3 separate regions of the Homo sapiens genome follow, and all the other regions are linked to region 2. Evidence: promoter capture Hi-C in human tissues and cell types (Jung and others, 2019). All regions are on one chromosome and are shown on one strand. Each heading gives the region's core, a stretch centred on a gene start or on the middle of the fragment in contact. The rest is flanking DNA. Distances are from core to core; before and after follow the strand shown. Region 1 has its middle 5.5 kb from the start of PTTG1IP. Region 2 holds the start of ITGB2 (integrin subunit beta 2). Region 3 overlaps SLX9 (SLX9 ribosome biogenesis factor).

Region 1 (4,927 bases), core at 1,039-3,538, 42 kb after region 2:
CCTGCTGATCCCTGCCTGTCCAAGGCTCCACACTGTCTAGCCCCTTCCAAAGTGAGTCCAAAGTCTGGGACCTTCAGGTGCTCTCCTTGTTCTCCCCAGTGTTAAGCATCTGGTGGTTTAATGGGTTGCCAGAAGCTTCACTCTTTTTATGCAGCCTCTCTGGAAGTCACCCACTAAGGAATGTACTCATAATGACCACATACAAAAAAAATCCAACTGCACAGACACTTAACCACCAAATAAACCCGCTGGTGGAAATCCCTGGCAGGTGACTCCAATATGCACAACTAGGTGGGGACCCTGGAACTTCCCCTCTCTGGCCCCAGCCCACTGTGGCTGTCTGGTCCTGTGGACAGCCCTTTCCATTGCTCTGGGGCTCGGCTGTCATTTCTCCTAAGTTGATACCATTGTGACTGTATCAGTTTAATTCCCTAACCATCTTTCTTCATGGAAAGACATATGCACTTTTAATTCCAGACTGCTCTAAGTAATCATCCTGTTTCTGTAAAGAGTCATAACGGTTGTACTTCCTGTACAATGTGCCGTTTGGGTCATTCCTCTGAGCTTGAAGCTCTTTGACAATTGAATATGTATCTTTGGATTCCAGACATGTTAAATTACACAATGCCTCCCATTTCCTCTTTTTAAATCTTGACTTCCATGCGGTTAAAACAGGAACTGGGGTTATACCATGCATTTTTTGAACTTCTGCATTGTTAAGTTGTCCCAGAACTTAGTTATATTTTAAAATGCCATTGTGCATTGTTTAAAATGTGGTGATATTCACCGAGTTTTGGTTAATGTTTACAAACACCTAATGTCCATCAAATACCATTAAATTAGCATTGTGTGGTTGTATTGTTTCAGGGGCATAGTTCTAAACTAGACTTGTGTTTATTCTGTTTCTGCAAACTGATTTTTTTTTTTTTTCAGATGTAGTCTCACTCCGTGGCCCAGGCTGGAGTGCAGTGGTGCGATCTCAGCTCACTGCAACCTCTGTCTCCTGGGTTCAAGAGATTCTCCTGCCTTGGCCTCCAAGTAGCTGAGACTACAGGTGTGTGCCACCATACCCGGCTAATTTTTGGATTTTTACTAGAGACAGGGTTTCACCATGTTGGCCATGCTGGTCTCCTGACCTCAAGTGATACACCTGCCTTGGCCTCCCACTGTTGGGATTACAAGCATGAGCCACTGTGCCTGGCCTGCAAATGGCTTTTTAAACATCTTTTGATACAATCGAAGATCCCAATGAAGATGTAAAGTATTTGAACTGGAAGACGTGGGTCAGAGACACAGTTTGCTGTCACTAAGGTCCCTTTGCATCCACTTTATCCCTTTATGCTGAGCCTGAGCAAACAGGACAAACGTAAAAAATGATTGTAATTTCTAGAATAAGTTAACAGTTTTTGTCACTAATTTTGCCAAGATCCCAACCAGCTATTTAGCCAGTTGTTTGGAGGAGGTTTTGGCTCTGAAAGGTTGGTTTATGTGGATTTCACATCAGCCATGAATTTAGTGATGTTATTTGGTTTATCTGGGATACAGACACAGCTTTTAGTTTTACGATAGCACAGGTTACCCTCGAGCTGCGGTGAGTATGTCTAAAGCCATATGGTTTTATAATACAGATTTTCTCAGGTAAGTTTATCATTTAATCATGAGATACCTGGCTATATCTTAAGGCCTTTTGTGTGTAACTGGTGAGGGCCTCTACGTGTCAAGTAACGCCTTCAATACCCAGTTATGGCAGAAAGACAGAAGCTAAATGATGATACCAATGGAATACAGGATGAATCTGACAAGACTGTAGATGAGGAAGATTGGTGAGTGTGAAACGGTATGAAATATTTGACCTTGTGACCGGCATAACCCAAAGAACACTGTCCCAGCTGTCCCAGGGTATCACCTTCTGGTACAAGAGCCCATTTCGGAGGCTCAGTTTTCTTTGTTTTTGAGATGGAATCTCACTCTGTCACCAAGGCTGGAGGGCAGTGGCACAATCTCGGCTCATTGCAACCTCTGCCTCCCGGGTTCAAGCAATTCTCCTGCCTCAGCCACCTGAGTAGCTGGGATTACAGGTGCGCCACCATGCCTGGCTAATTTTTATATTTTTAGTAGAGATGGGATTTCACCGTGTTGGCCAGGCTGGTCTCGAACTCCTGATCTCAGGTGATCCACCTGCCTTGGCTTCCCAAAGTGGTGGGATTATAGGAGTGAGCCACCGCGCCCAGCCGAGGCTCAGATTTCTTTAGATGGGAGATGTGAATTCAAGGGTCGTCTTCTAATTTTATGGTGAAGGCTGGTCAGGAGTACCTGATAAGGTCCATAGCAGGTTGCAGAGACTTTTTAAAAAATGTCATTTCCAATAGACAAAATCTCCTGGTTGAAGTCTGTGGTCCTTGAAATTTTTGTTTCCCAGGAGCTCACTGTGAAAAGATTATTTTTGCCAATTATAATTTTTCATTAATGTTTTGCAAGGGCACTGCAATAGCTGAATATGTCTCCCTTTAATATCATAGACGTACAGTTTCTTGGAGATAATTTCATGGGTCTGCCTAATTTTTAGCAGAGATAACTGGTGTTTACCTAAAGGGGTCGACCTCTGATTAAGCAGAACCAGTAGAAGAACTTCTGACCAAGGAATTTGAAAAGCCTTGGTTAATTTTGCCAACTGAGTTTTGATTATTCCATTGGTGCATTTCACTAACCCAGATGACTGGGTGTGGTAAGCGCAATGGAAATGCTGGAGGATGGGCCAAAGTTTACATACTGATTGAATCATCCGTCCAGCGAAGTGAGTTCCTCTATTGCTACAAGTTCCAGAGGAACTCCCCAGGTTGCAATACCTTTTTCTACAGCAATTTTACTCACTGCTAAGGCAGTGCTCTTCTGCATGGAAATGCCTCTGCCCAGTGAGAAAACAAGTAAATTGTTATCAGAACATGTTTGTATGTTTCTGAGGGTGGCAACAGCATGGCATCTAATGGTCATAACTCACAAGGGCCTCGGGTAAAGGGAAATGTCCTTATAATGGTTTTCCTGGATTATATTTTAGGGAACTGTGGCAATGATTGTCTGTTTCGATCTTTGTGTTTGTAGAAAGCAAAAAGTTCCTCTTCAAAGTTTCCCTTCTTGTTAAAGAGTAAATCATAAGTGTTAAAAATAATAGTTTCTTTTAAAAACTAACTTCCTTCAAGCCTCCTGGCTTCGTGCTAATAACTGCTCGTTAAGCTCTAGCCTGTGTAGCTGTTACACTTGCTCACGGGCACGTAGTACATTCTATGTCCTTGAACCTTAACCAGGATATTTGTGCTGGACCTGCCCACAGGCACATTCCAGCTCGCAGCCTATGCCCCTTCCCTATTTGGTATTAAGCAACTTCCTCTTTTCCTTTGTCTTTCCATTACTTTTACCTATTTAGAAAAGTTTTAAACTGTTAGCCAATCGGGTTTTAGTTTAGATTGTGAGGTCTGGCTCCAGCCAATGGAGACAGGACACAGTAGCAGGGCCAAACAGCGGCAGGGATGAAAATGGCTTCCCTCCTTTGTTCAGGTGTGCTCTCGCCATTGTTCCATCTGTGATGAGCACCCCTTCTGCAGAAAGTAAAAATGGCCTTGCTGAGAGAATTAAATTTATGTTCGAGTGCTGTGTCTTTGCAGCACTTGGGAACAAGCATTCTGTTTCTAAATAACAATTTTTACATATAACAGTGTTTTAGGAACCCCTAAAGCATCTCCACCACTTTCATGTATTATACAAATAATAGAATGGAAGGTTATAATTTGTATGCCCCAAAGGCGGAGCATTAGCAAGGTCACGTTTGATCATTTCAAATGTTGGTGTATTTTCTTCTGACCACTCTAAAGTCCTGGCATGTCCTGTTTTTAGAGAGCGTATAAGGACTGAGCTTTAAAGAAAAGTTTGGGATCCAATTTCTATAATATCCTGCCAGTCCTCCACATCCTTTTGTTTCTTGGTTGTTGGTGGTGGAAAGCTAAAATTCCTTTCAGTCTATCTAGATTAGTAGAAAGTCTTTCTTTAGATATTAAGTGGCCCAAGTACTTTGTTTTTTATAAAATTGAGGTTTTTCTTTAGGAATTTTATGTCCCTTTAGGGCTGTTGTAATGAATGTATCCCATCTTCTATAAAAGCTTTGCTTATCTTCTGAGCAAAGGAGTAAACTGCCCATGTATTGTAATAAAAAATTTTTTTTAAGAACAAGTCAAAAGACTGGGCCCAGTGCCTCGCGCCTGTAATTCCAACACTCTGGGAGGTTGCAGTGGGCGGATCACCTGGGGTTCAGAGTTTGAGACCAGCCTGACCAACATGGAGAAACTCCATCTCTACTAAAAATACGAAATTAGCCAGGCATGGTGGCGCATGCCTGTAATCTCAGCTACTCGGGAGACTGAGGTGGGAGAATTGCTTGAACCCGGGAGGCAGAGGTTGCAGTGAGCCGAGGTAGCGCCATTGCACTCCAGCCTGGACAACAAGAGCGAAACTCCGTCAAAAAAAAAAAAAAAAGAACAAGTCAGTATGTAAGACAACTGTCTTTGCATCAGTTGGACTCTCAGTGTAGCCCTGAGCATGGCTGTCTGTGTGTATTGTCTGCCTTCCCAAGTAAAGGTAAAGAGAAATCAACACTTTCACACACAGAACTACTGAAGGATGTGCTAATAAGTCCACTACACTAAAGGACTTTGATCGGGGTAGCCAAGAGGATTCTTCCAGTATCAGTGGAAGACTCTGACCATATTTGATCAAGTACTGCCTTTAGTAGGTTTTGTAATTCTTCATTATTCAATAATTCAGTGTCTTCTAGGGCAATTAGGGATCGCAATTGGGTTAGATTTTGAAACTTTTTTTATGTCTAGTAACTCAGCTTTCTCATCTAATTCTAAATACGTCTTCCCCCTTTGGGAGAAAG
Region 2 (4,795 bases), core at 275-2,774:
CCAAAGTGCTGGGATTACAAGTTTGAGCCACCATGCCCAAAATAAAGATTTGTCATATTTTTTTTCAGGTATATACATGCTATTTTTATTCTTAAGGAGACTCTTGAATTGTTAGCATATATACTTAGATATTTTCTATCAAAATGCCCACTGACAAGCATCTATATTCCTCCCCAGATAGGATGGAACGGCAATGTGCTCCCTGGCCCCTCCCAACCCAGTCCTCTAGGCGTTTTGTTTCACAGCGTTAATATTCTTACCACTATTTTTTAAATCAACAGGTTATGACATCATAATTTTTACTTATTTCTTTGCCCAACTTTGTATCATCTGCTCTTGTATTTCTCATGGATTTCTTCATGTCTATTTCTGCAAGACATCTTTAAAACAGAGTTTAGGAGCCGGGAGCCATGGCTCACGCCAGTAATCCCAGCACTTTGGAAGGCAGAGGTGGATGGATCACTTGAAGCCAGGAGTTCAAGACCAGCCTGGTCAACATAGTGAAACCCTGTCTCTACTAAGAATACAAAAATTACCCAGGCGTGGTGGTACATGTGCCTGTAATCCCAGCTACTTGGGAGGCTGAGGCAGGAGAATTGCTTGAACCCGGGAGGCAGAGGTTGCAGTGAGCTGAGATCACGCCACTGCACTCCAGCCTGGGTGACAAAAGCAAAACTCTGTCTCAAAAAAAACTGAAAACATAAAAATAAATAAATAAATAAAACAGAGTTTAGGGTAGTAATGTGTCTGAGTCCTTGCTCTGAAGATGTCTGATTTGGGTTTTTTTTCTAGGTATAATCTCTTTCCCTCCTCTTCCTCCTCCTCCTCCTCTCCCTTCTCTCTCTCTCTGAGCCTGTAGTATTTTCCCTTTCGTGTTCTGTGGTATCCTCCTAATGTCCCTAGTTAACAGGACCTCATCCATCCATCCCTGGGGTGTTCAGTGGCCTCGCAATCCACGTCCCCGCCCAGATCCGCAGCCTTCCTCCTGTGACCTGAGTGTCTCCTCCTCGCTGTCCCTGTTCTGTCCCCTCCCGCCCTCACATGCAGGTGGATGTCAATGCGTGCACGCACCCAGGTTTTCTTGCCTGTTCCCACCTCTTTATCCTCCTTGGCTGGTTCCTCCGCTCCATTCTCTGGCTCAGGAATTTGCTCCCCAGGGTTTTTCATTCCGCTCTGTAGCAGAATGTGCTACTGTTGCTTTCCAGCATCAAACTTTTCACTCCCATGGCCTCTGTGTTCTTCTTCCTAATGGGTGCCCTTTCTGCCTGGCGCTCCTGGAGGCCGGGCCCCTCTCCCAAGTGTGAATCTGATGGAAGCAGGTCCTTCTCGCCGGGACCTCATGTGAGAAATGACATGTCCCACCTGTCTCAAGGGGCCGCTCTCTGACATCAGAGCTGCTGTAGAGCGGAGAGGGGCAGGGGTGAAGGGCCACGGTGGTGCAACCCACCACTTCCTCCAAGGAGGAGCTGAGAGGAACAGGAAGTGTCAGGACTTTACGACCCGCGCCTCCAGCTGAGGTTTCTAGACGTGACCCAGGGCAGACTGGTAGCAAAGCCCCCACGCCCAGCCAGGAGCACCGCCGAGGACTCCAGCACACCGAGGGTGAGTGTGCAGAGGCCCCGCTATGTCCACGGTGATTTTTGGAGGGAAGCACTCTCCTGCCCCAGCCTGGAGTGACCCTGGTGGCCCTGCTTATAGCCCCGGCCCAGGGGTGTCTGGCAGGAAGGGGTCTCCAGACCGTCTGCTCCAGGGTCCCCTTTGAGACCCGGCAAGGGGAAGTGCCTGCCACCAAGAGCAGAGCCACATGGTGTGCTGGGAGCGCTTGCGGCTGAGGATGGGGCCGGCATGGGAGGACAAGGGGCTGTGAGGCCGGCAAGGCCAGGAAGAGGCTGGGCCCACAAGCCCCTAGGGGGACGGCTGGGGGGTCCTGGTGCTCCGGGCTGGGCAGGAGGCAGGTTCCCGGGGCCTCCTCTGTGAACCTGCTGCGCCTGCCTGTGTTAGGCCCTCCTGTCTGCATGCTGCCCCGCCTGGCTACAGCGATTCCATCTCCAGATCGACTCGCAGTGTGTGGTGTGTGATATGGTGTGGTGTGGTTCGTGGTGTGTAGTGTCGTGTGTGTAGTGTGGCATGGTGTGCATGTATGGTGCACGTGTGTGGCATAGCGTAGTGTGGTGTGTGTGTGTGCATGTATGGTGTGCGAGTGTGCGCATGTGATGTGGGGAGTCTGTTGTATGTACATGTATGGTGCACATGTGTAATGTAGTGTGGTGTGGTGTGGCACATGCTCCATGCTCCTCTGGGACCCTCGAGCTTCCCTGCCTCCTCCGTGGGGACCCCTGGGTGACGTCTTGCTGTAGGGGAGCGGGCACCGCTGTGCGATTCTGGTCGAGTTGGTTCAGCTGGTGACCCTGGCCTCCCCACAACAGGCTCCTGGAGGCCATTCCCAAGGTCCTGGTGGGAGGGGGATTGAAGCCACGCCCCTGGGTCCCAGGCCCACCTGGCCCCCTTCCCCCAACACTGCACTCTTGGGGCCAGCCCTCCCCATGCATCCTCCACCCCTGGCACCACCCCTTGCACCACCGTCCCCACACCCAATCCCCCCTCCCCTGGATCTGGGAGCTGGGATTCTGCCCTGCTGTCCCTGTCCATCCGGGGCCCCTCTCCTCTGTCAGTTCCTGGGTGGGGAGAAGGAGGGGTGGCATGGCTGCAATGGGGAAGGGGGGGGATGGCCGGAGAGCTCAGCCTGGGAGCGAGCTGTGGGGGCATAGGGGACACTCGCTGTCACTCGCCTTCCCCGTGACGGTGGCGCAACGCCTGCGGGTTTGGGGGCTGAGGCCGGATTCTGGAGGCTTCACAGAAATGAGCTGCTAGAAGCTCTGGGCTGTCTGCCGTCACCCCAGCGTTTCACCATGAGTGAAGCCCAGCTCACTGCAGAATCCATGCCCAGCTCACTGCAGAATCCCCGGGGGCCAGCACTTTACCAAGAGTGGCCTCCAGACTCCACATTTTAGGAAGGAACTCCTTCCCCATCCAGCTCACAGCAGAATCCCCAGGGTCCCTGCCAGCCTGGCACCCAGCGTGCCCCTCAGTATTCTGGGGATGAGTGGGGGAGTCCCTCTGCTGGGAAGAGGTCCCTGGCTACGTCCCTGCAGGGCGGCGGCTGAGCCCATGCCTCGGCCCCAGGGCCAGTCCCCGCCGGGTGCCATCCTGAGCAGGGCCACAGAACAGATGTCCCACATGGCCAGGACCCCTGTGGCCACCTGACCCCGGGGGGGCTGTGGCCCTCGGTGAAGCAGGTGACCGGGCGGGCTGTGGGGTTTGTCAGCTCCGCAGCGTCACTGCCGCTCAGCGTATGAGTTTCCACTCCCAGCACTCAATGAACAGCTGAGCAACTGCAGGTGCCTCCGAGTGCTGGGAGAGGGGAATGCTCAGCTCCGAGTGCTGGGAGAGGGGACGCTCAGCTCCGAGTGCTGGGAGAGGGGACGCTTAGCCACCCAAGGGCCTTTGCCTCAAGGGAGTAAATAGGGGCATTTCCTGGTGGGCGTGGGCTGGGCTGGAGAAGCAGGGCCTCCTGGCAGGGGCTGGCATGAGATCCAAACACTGCCCAGGCAGCTGGACACTCCTGAGCCTGGAGCTTCTCACCTGAACCACAGGGTGGTAACCCCTGCCCCTCAGGCGGCATCGACGTGACCTGCCTAGTGCACAGTGAGCCTGAGGCAACACGGCCACCACCAGGAGACTCCCTGGGGAAGAGGCCCCCAGACAGCGAGGTGCCCATGAAGGAAGTTCTGCACAGGGGCCGCGGCCATCCAGGAGATGGGAGGGGCCCTATCTGCACCCTGTCTGGAAGGGGCATGGGGTGAGCAGGCTATTTGGTCCCCCGTGACTCAGTTTCCCCATCTGTGAAACAGGAGGGGTGGTCTGGCCAATTGTGCGCACTCCAGCTGTCTCTATAGTCAACCGTGTAACTTGAACTCACTTCCCCAGGGCTCCTGCCAGGCCCAGGTCTGTCCACTCTGGCCCAGGCCGGGCCCCACCAGGTACCAGGGCTGTGGGACATTTGCCTCTGTGGATGGGGCAGCGTGACGCCTGTGGCGATTCCATGGAACAGGTCCTGTGTGGGCCCCCCTTGCTGCACTCGTGTCCTGTGTCAGAGAACCGTGGTCCTGCCTGAGGCCATGTCACCGGAGGCTGGCTCCCGTTCCCGGAGGAGAATGCCAGCTGCCACAGGGGTCAGTGACACAGGCATTTGCCCAGCAGGTACAGGCCAGGTCGCTGGGAAGCCCCAACTCAAGGGGCTCTGCAGTGGGCGCCTAGCAATTATGGAGCTGTGGGTGATACCCACCCCAAGCCGGACCTGGTGCCAGCAATTATCCCTCCCATTCTGCTTGGCACAAACTGGCACTGACACGGGGCATTGATTAGGTGGTTGCATTTGTCGATTCCGAGCCCATGTGTGTGGAGCCCAGGCCCTGAGCAAGCACAGAGGGCCCTGGTGCTGTCCTGAGCTGAGGCCCCTGCCCACCCCGGGCTGCGTGTTCTCTCCGGCCATTCAGGGTCTGAGAGTGCAGAAGAGTTAGCCCCAGGGGAACACCTTCCTGCCCAGCTGATTTGTAAACAGCCTCGCTGGGGACACATGTTGGTGTTGGGAGTGGTGGAGGTTTCTGTGTGTGATGGAAACTTGGGGTAGGTGTTGGGGAAAAGAGGTGCTGAGAGTCTCAGCAGAGGGCAGAGTCCAGGAGTCCTGGAGTGCAGCTCTCAGCCCCTGCGCCGTGCCTAGAGGAGAGGCTGGCAA
Region 3 (4,821 bases), core at 1-2,500, 41 kb before region 2:
CCGGCTACTCAGAAGGCTGAGGCAGAAGAATCGCTTGAACCCAGGAGGTGTTGCTTGCAGTGAGCCAAGATCGCACCACTGCACTCCAGCCTGGCGACAGAGCAAGACTCTATCTCAAAAAAAAAAAAAAAGAAAGAAAATGAACAGGCAAGTCACAGTCTGGGAAAAACATCTGTAAAACACATATCCAACCAAAGACTGGACTCTAGGACAAAGAACTCTTAGAGCTCAATAATAAAAAGACAAAAAGCCTCATGAAAAATGAATTTCACTGACGCTGAAACACAAATGGACAGTAAGCACATGTAAATGCTCTTTTGGTGGCAACGGAAATGAGTACCACCGTGAGATACCATTTCATGATTACCAGACGGCCGAGGCTGAGGAGACGGCAGGCCATGTGTTGGCAAAGCTGAGGGCCAGGAGAACTCTCACAGGCTCTGGTGGGAGTGTGAGTGTACAACCACTCTAGAAAAGCGTCTGGCAGCTGCTTATAAAACTAAACATACACCTACCCTATGACCCAGCATTCCATTCCTCAGCACTTACCCAAGAGAAACGAAAACATGTCCACAAAAAGACTTGTAAAGAATGTTCAGAGCAGCCTTATTCACAGTAGCTAAAAATGGAAAAAAGCCCAGGTGCCCATCAGCAGGAAAGTGAGTAACAAATGGTGTATTCATACAATGAAATACTTCTCAGCAATCAAAAGGCATGGACTGCTGCTACATGCAGCCTGGATGGGTTTCAAAACCATTACGCTGAGCAAAAGCAGCCAGATGCAGAAAGAGTGCATCCTACATGATTCCATTTATACAGAGTCTAAGGCAAGAAAAGCTCAACTGTGGACGACAAAGGGTGACACAGCAGTTGTTACCTCTGGGGCCAGTGGGAGAGGTAATTGACTGGGGGGGTGCGTGACTGTCGGGGAATGGTGGTGATGGTCCATAACCTGAACAGGATTTCAGCTGCACAGGTGTCTACAACATTTGTCAGCAATCATTGAATGGCACACTTTAGATTTGCATTTCATTTTATGTAAATACAATCTTCAAAAGAAAAAGAAAAAAAAAGAACCATGAACTCTAGCAGAATTATTTGGGGTGGAGTGTACTGATGTCTGCCATTTACTTTGAAACGCATTTTTAAAAACCCATGTTGGTAGATGGACAGAAACTGCTAGATGAACGGTTATGTAATAAAGATTGTAAAATCTGTGTGGTGGGTACAGGGTATTCCCTATAAAATTCTTCCCACTTTCCTAAATAAAATTTTTCATAATAAAATACAAAGTAAAAGTAACTTGGGAAATGTAGCTAAAGCTGTATTTAGAGATAACTTACAGCCTTTCACTCCTGAACAAAACATATACAAACAGATAAGCAGAGTAACTGAAACCCAAAGAAAGCTAAAACGGGAGTGATCAAAATAAAAACAAATAATTTTGAAGACAAAAGAGTAGAATTGGTTATTAAATACATTAATTATTAAATGGAAGAGACAAAACTTCTTAATTTAATCAGAAATGAAGGTGGAGATACAAATAAAGAACGATAAAGAAAACAGAATATTTAATAAGAAGGCAACTAACATATGAAGATTGAGATCTGACTAAATTTGATCATTAACATTATTTAGAGACAAGGACCCACTCTGTCACCCAGGCTGGAGTGCACTAGTGCAATTACGGTTCACTGCAGCCTCAAACTCCTGGGTTGAAGCGATCTTCCTACCTCAGCCTCCTAAGTCGCTAGGACTAGAGGCTCAGAGGCATACACCACCTAATCTGACTAATTTTTACATTTTTTGTAGAGACAAGGTCTCGCTATATTGCCCAGGCTAGTCTGAAACTCCTGGGCGTAGGTGATCCTTCCATCTCAACCTTCCAAAGTGCTGGGATTACAGGCATGAGACACCATCCTCAGACAAATTCGATCATTTTATGAGTGGCCAAAATTGACTCAAGTTGTGAAAAAACAAAAAAAAAGGACCAAGTGCCATGGAATAAAATTTACACATCATCAAAGAATTACAGCCTAGAAAATCAGGGTCCAAATGGCCACAGTCCAGTAGCCCGTCCAAATCCACTTTCACAGCTATGCTAGGAACTGTGAAAAAGAAAATGGAGGAATGAATCATTTCCCTAAGAAATATCCAAAAAGGGATAGAAACCATAAAACTAATAATCACAAAAGAAACTGACAAAGTTTTCTAGGTCCTACCTCTGAAAAACATACATTTTCTTTAAAACCTCCAAGGAAAAAATAAAGCAGATAACATAAAAAAGAAAATATTCCAAATTAATTTCACAAAGTCAGCAGAATCACACTAAAAAGATAACCGAAAAATACAAAATAATTTTGACGAGAAACAATCTTAGAAAAACACTGGCAAATATCCAGCATCACGAAAAATAAGGAGATACTCCAAAACAACCTGAGTGGGAAGTGTGGCTTTCAGCCTGCGGAGACGTGCAGCTGGGAGCACGTGGCAAGGCTGACCTCAGAAAAGAGGGAGCCACAGGCCTGAAAGGGTCTGGGGACACCAGGGGCCCTGCCCACACCCACGCCGCTATGCGCAGACACTGTTTTCACCGCGGGCAAGGCCTGGAAGGATTTCACATACCACTGCAGGCACTTCTGAACCATAAAAACTCCACGAGCACAGGTTACTTCCACAATAAAAAATTTCACGGTGGGGAACAAAAATAGGTAATTTTTACAAACAAGGAGCCGAGAGCAGCAGCTTCCCAAGGCCGTCCTCCAAAGGGAGGCAGCCCAGCTCTGCAGGTGCCCACACGGACGGGGTGGCAGTGCCATCCACAACAGGCCAGACCAGCTTGGCCATGCTGCCAAGTCTTCATGGCCAACCTCTCTGTGCCTCCACTGTCCTTCGGCCCCCACAGCAGCCTCTGAAGTGTCTTGGGTGATCCCCTTGGGCACTCCTCGGGGAGTGTGGCTGATGTAGAAGGCCAGATGTGAGGCTGTAGGAATAGGAGGGCCCACGGGATGGGACTTGGGCCGGCAGCTGCCTCAAGACGCAGGCATGGACTTACTCTGCAACCATTGCTCACGCCTCAGCTTCATTTTCTCCTTCTTGGGCAAAACGGTCTTGGCCTCTGCACCTGAGGAAAGAGAACACGGGAGTGAGCAAAACGTGTCCAGGTGGCACTCCCATGACCTGAGAATGGGCTGGGGCGGGTCCTGACTGCAGAGCTGCCACAGTCACTGCAACTGGTCTGGCCTGTGCCAGCCTCTCAGACTCCCGGCTCTGGACAGCACCAGGGGCACCTGCAGCATGCCTCGGCCCGGCCTCAGGAGGCTCTCTCAGCAGCGTCCCCCCGCAGTGATGGCCTGGCCACTCACCCCAGCCTGCCCCGGAAAGCAGGTGTCCCAACAAGGAGGCCTCCTCCCCACTCATGCCCCGAATGACTGTCAGGGCAGTCATTGCAGTGAAGCCATGCAGGAATGCCCGACGGCTCATGAAGGGGGCCACGAACAGGACAGAGGCCCTTAGGGGGACATCCCCAAGATCCTGTGTGGTCACGTCAGGCCCAGCGACGTACGTGCTCCCTGCCCCCTGCCAGGCCCGACAATGTGCTCGGTGACCAGAGGCTTCATCCCTGGACCCCACAAAGCGGCCCTCTCAGGGAGCCTCCAAAAGTGAACTCCACAGGTGCCCCTGTGCTTGGTCCACGCGGAGCCCAGCCACCTGCCCGGTGGGCGGGGAAAGGAGGCTCATTTGCTGGGGGGACAGGGGCAGGGGTGGGATGAGCCTGCAGGGCCGTGCAGGTGGGGACAGGTGGAGAGGGCACTGGGTGCTGCGTCTCTGACTCCAGTTTGCTCTGAAACAGAGTGGACTCAAGGGCACCCCCATTTCCTCGGCCTTAACTGATTTCCCGAGACGGTTCAGCCTCGGCTGCATTCTCCCCAGAACACATCTCCCAGTATCTCTTTTAATTCATGCAGACCTTCCTGGCTTGTCCAACAAATCCACCATGTCTAATGAAAAACAAAGCAGAAGCAAGCCCTGCCTGGAGAAAGGCAGTCGCTGCGCTCTGCATTTCAGACTTCACTTCAGGAGCCGGTGTGAAACCTCCAAGGCCCAGGGCTCCCGCAGGATTTAATCCCCTCCCACAGCTTCCTGGTGTGCCTGGGTTGACCTACTTTCCTCCATAGCATCCCAACCTCTCCCTCCCGACCACAAAGGGGAGGGGCTGATTTTGCAGCTTTTCTGTAGTTTTGAAATTGTTTCAAAAGAAAAATGAATCTAAGACCAGTGGAAACTGACCCGAACAGTGACCTGTGTTGTGTTGGAATGAAGAAAACGAGGCCTGGGCGCAGGCCAGGTCAGGAACACAGCACAGTGATCCTTCCCGGCTCTGGCCCCAGGGAGCTCCCCAGCCCCATTGCCATGGCACCAGGACAACAGGAACCAAACACGCTGCTCCTGCAGGAGGAGAGGGCTTGGAATGCTGCAGCTGGAGCAGAGGCCGCCTGGAACTGCTGGCGGCGGCCCCACGACCCCCAGCTCCCGCCGCTTTCCGGGCCCAAGGCGCCCTTGCTGAAGTGCTCCGGCACAGGTTCACGCCTGCTCCCCCTTCTAGCCTCTGGATGGGCTGACGGGTGTTCACTGAGATCCAGTCGGTGCCGCGGGCTACGGAGGGGGCTCGCCCTGTGGGTCCTGATTCCCTCTCCCCCGCAGGCCCAAGGCCACATGGACAGGGCAGGTGGGCGCACCCCACCCTGTGGTGGGGACAGTGTGAAGTCCGCTCGAGCTGCTCCGGTTTCTAAACTTACCTACGACAAGGCCAGCACACCA

What was found. Contacts are between HindIII fragments. The study calls those that stand out against the background at their distance.
Region 1: a contact is called between a fragment that was not itself captured here and the fragment with the promoter of ITGB2 in region 2, in 12 of the 25 tissues and cell types used here (H1 embryonic stem cells, IMR-90 fibroblasts, bladder and 9 more).
Region 3: a contact is called between a fragment that was not itself captured here and the fragment with the promoter of ITGB2 in region 2, in 2 of the 25 tissues and cell types used here (mesenchymal stem cells and spleen).

Annotation. Positions count from the first base shown.
Region 1 is chr21:44,876,722-44,881,648 of GRCh38, reverse strand. No RefSeq gene overlaps it. Among named protein-coding and RNA genes, the nearest start is that of PTTG1IP, 5.5 kb to the right of the region's middle. RefSeq lists an enhancer at 1-50 and a silencer at 1-215. The HindIII fragment of the contact is 4,746 bases long and covers 1-4,661 here.
Region 2 is chr21:44,917,628-44,922,422 of GRCh38, reverse strand. ITGB2 (integrin subunit beta 2) reads left to right here and starts at 1,524. Exons shown (of 16, transcript NM_000211.5): 1 at 1,524-1,602. It overlaps ITGB2-AS1 (ITGB2 antisense RNA 1), which reads right to left and starts at 1,388. Exons shown (of 3, transcript NR_038316.1): 1 at 1,096-1,388. RefSeq lists a silencer at 2,874-2,933 and an enhancer at 4,017-4,795. The HindIII fragment of the contact is 46,650 bases long and covers 1-4,795 here.
Region 3 is chr21:44,958,403-44,963,223 of GRCh38, reverse strand. It overlaps SLX9 (SLX9 ribosome biogenesis factor), which reads right to left. Exons shown (of 6, transcript NM_058190.4): 3 at 3,056-3,124. Among named protein-coding and RNA genes, the nearest start is that of SLX9, 21 kb to the right of the region's middle. The HindIII fragment of the contact is 4,593 bases long and covers 1-3,546 here.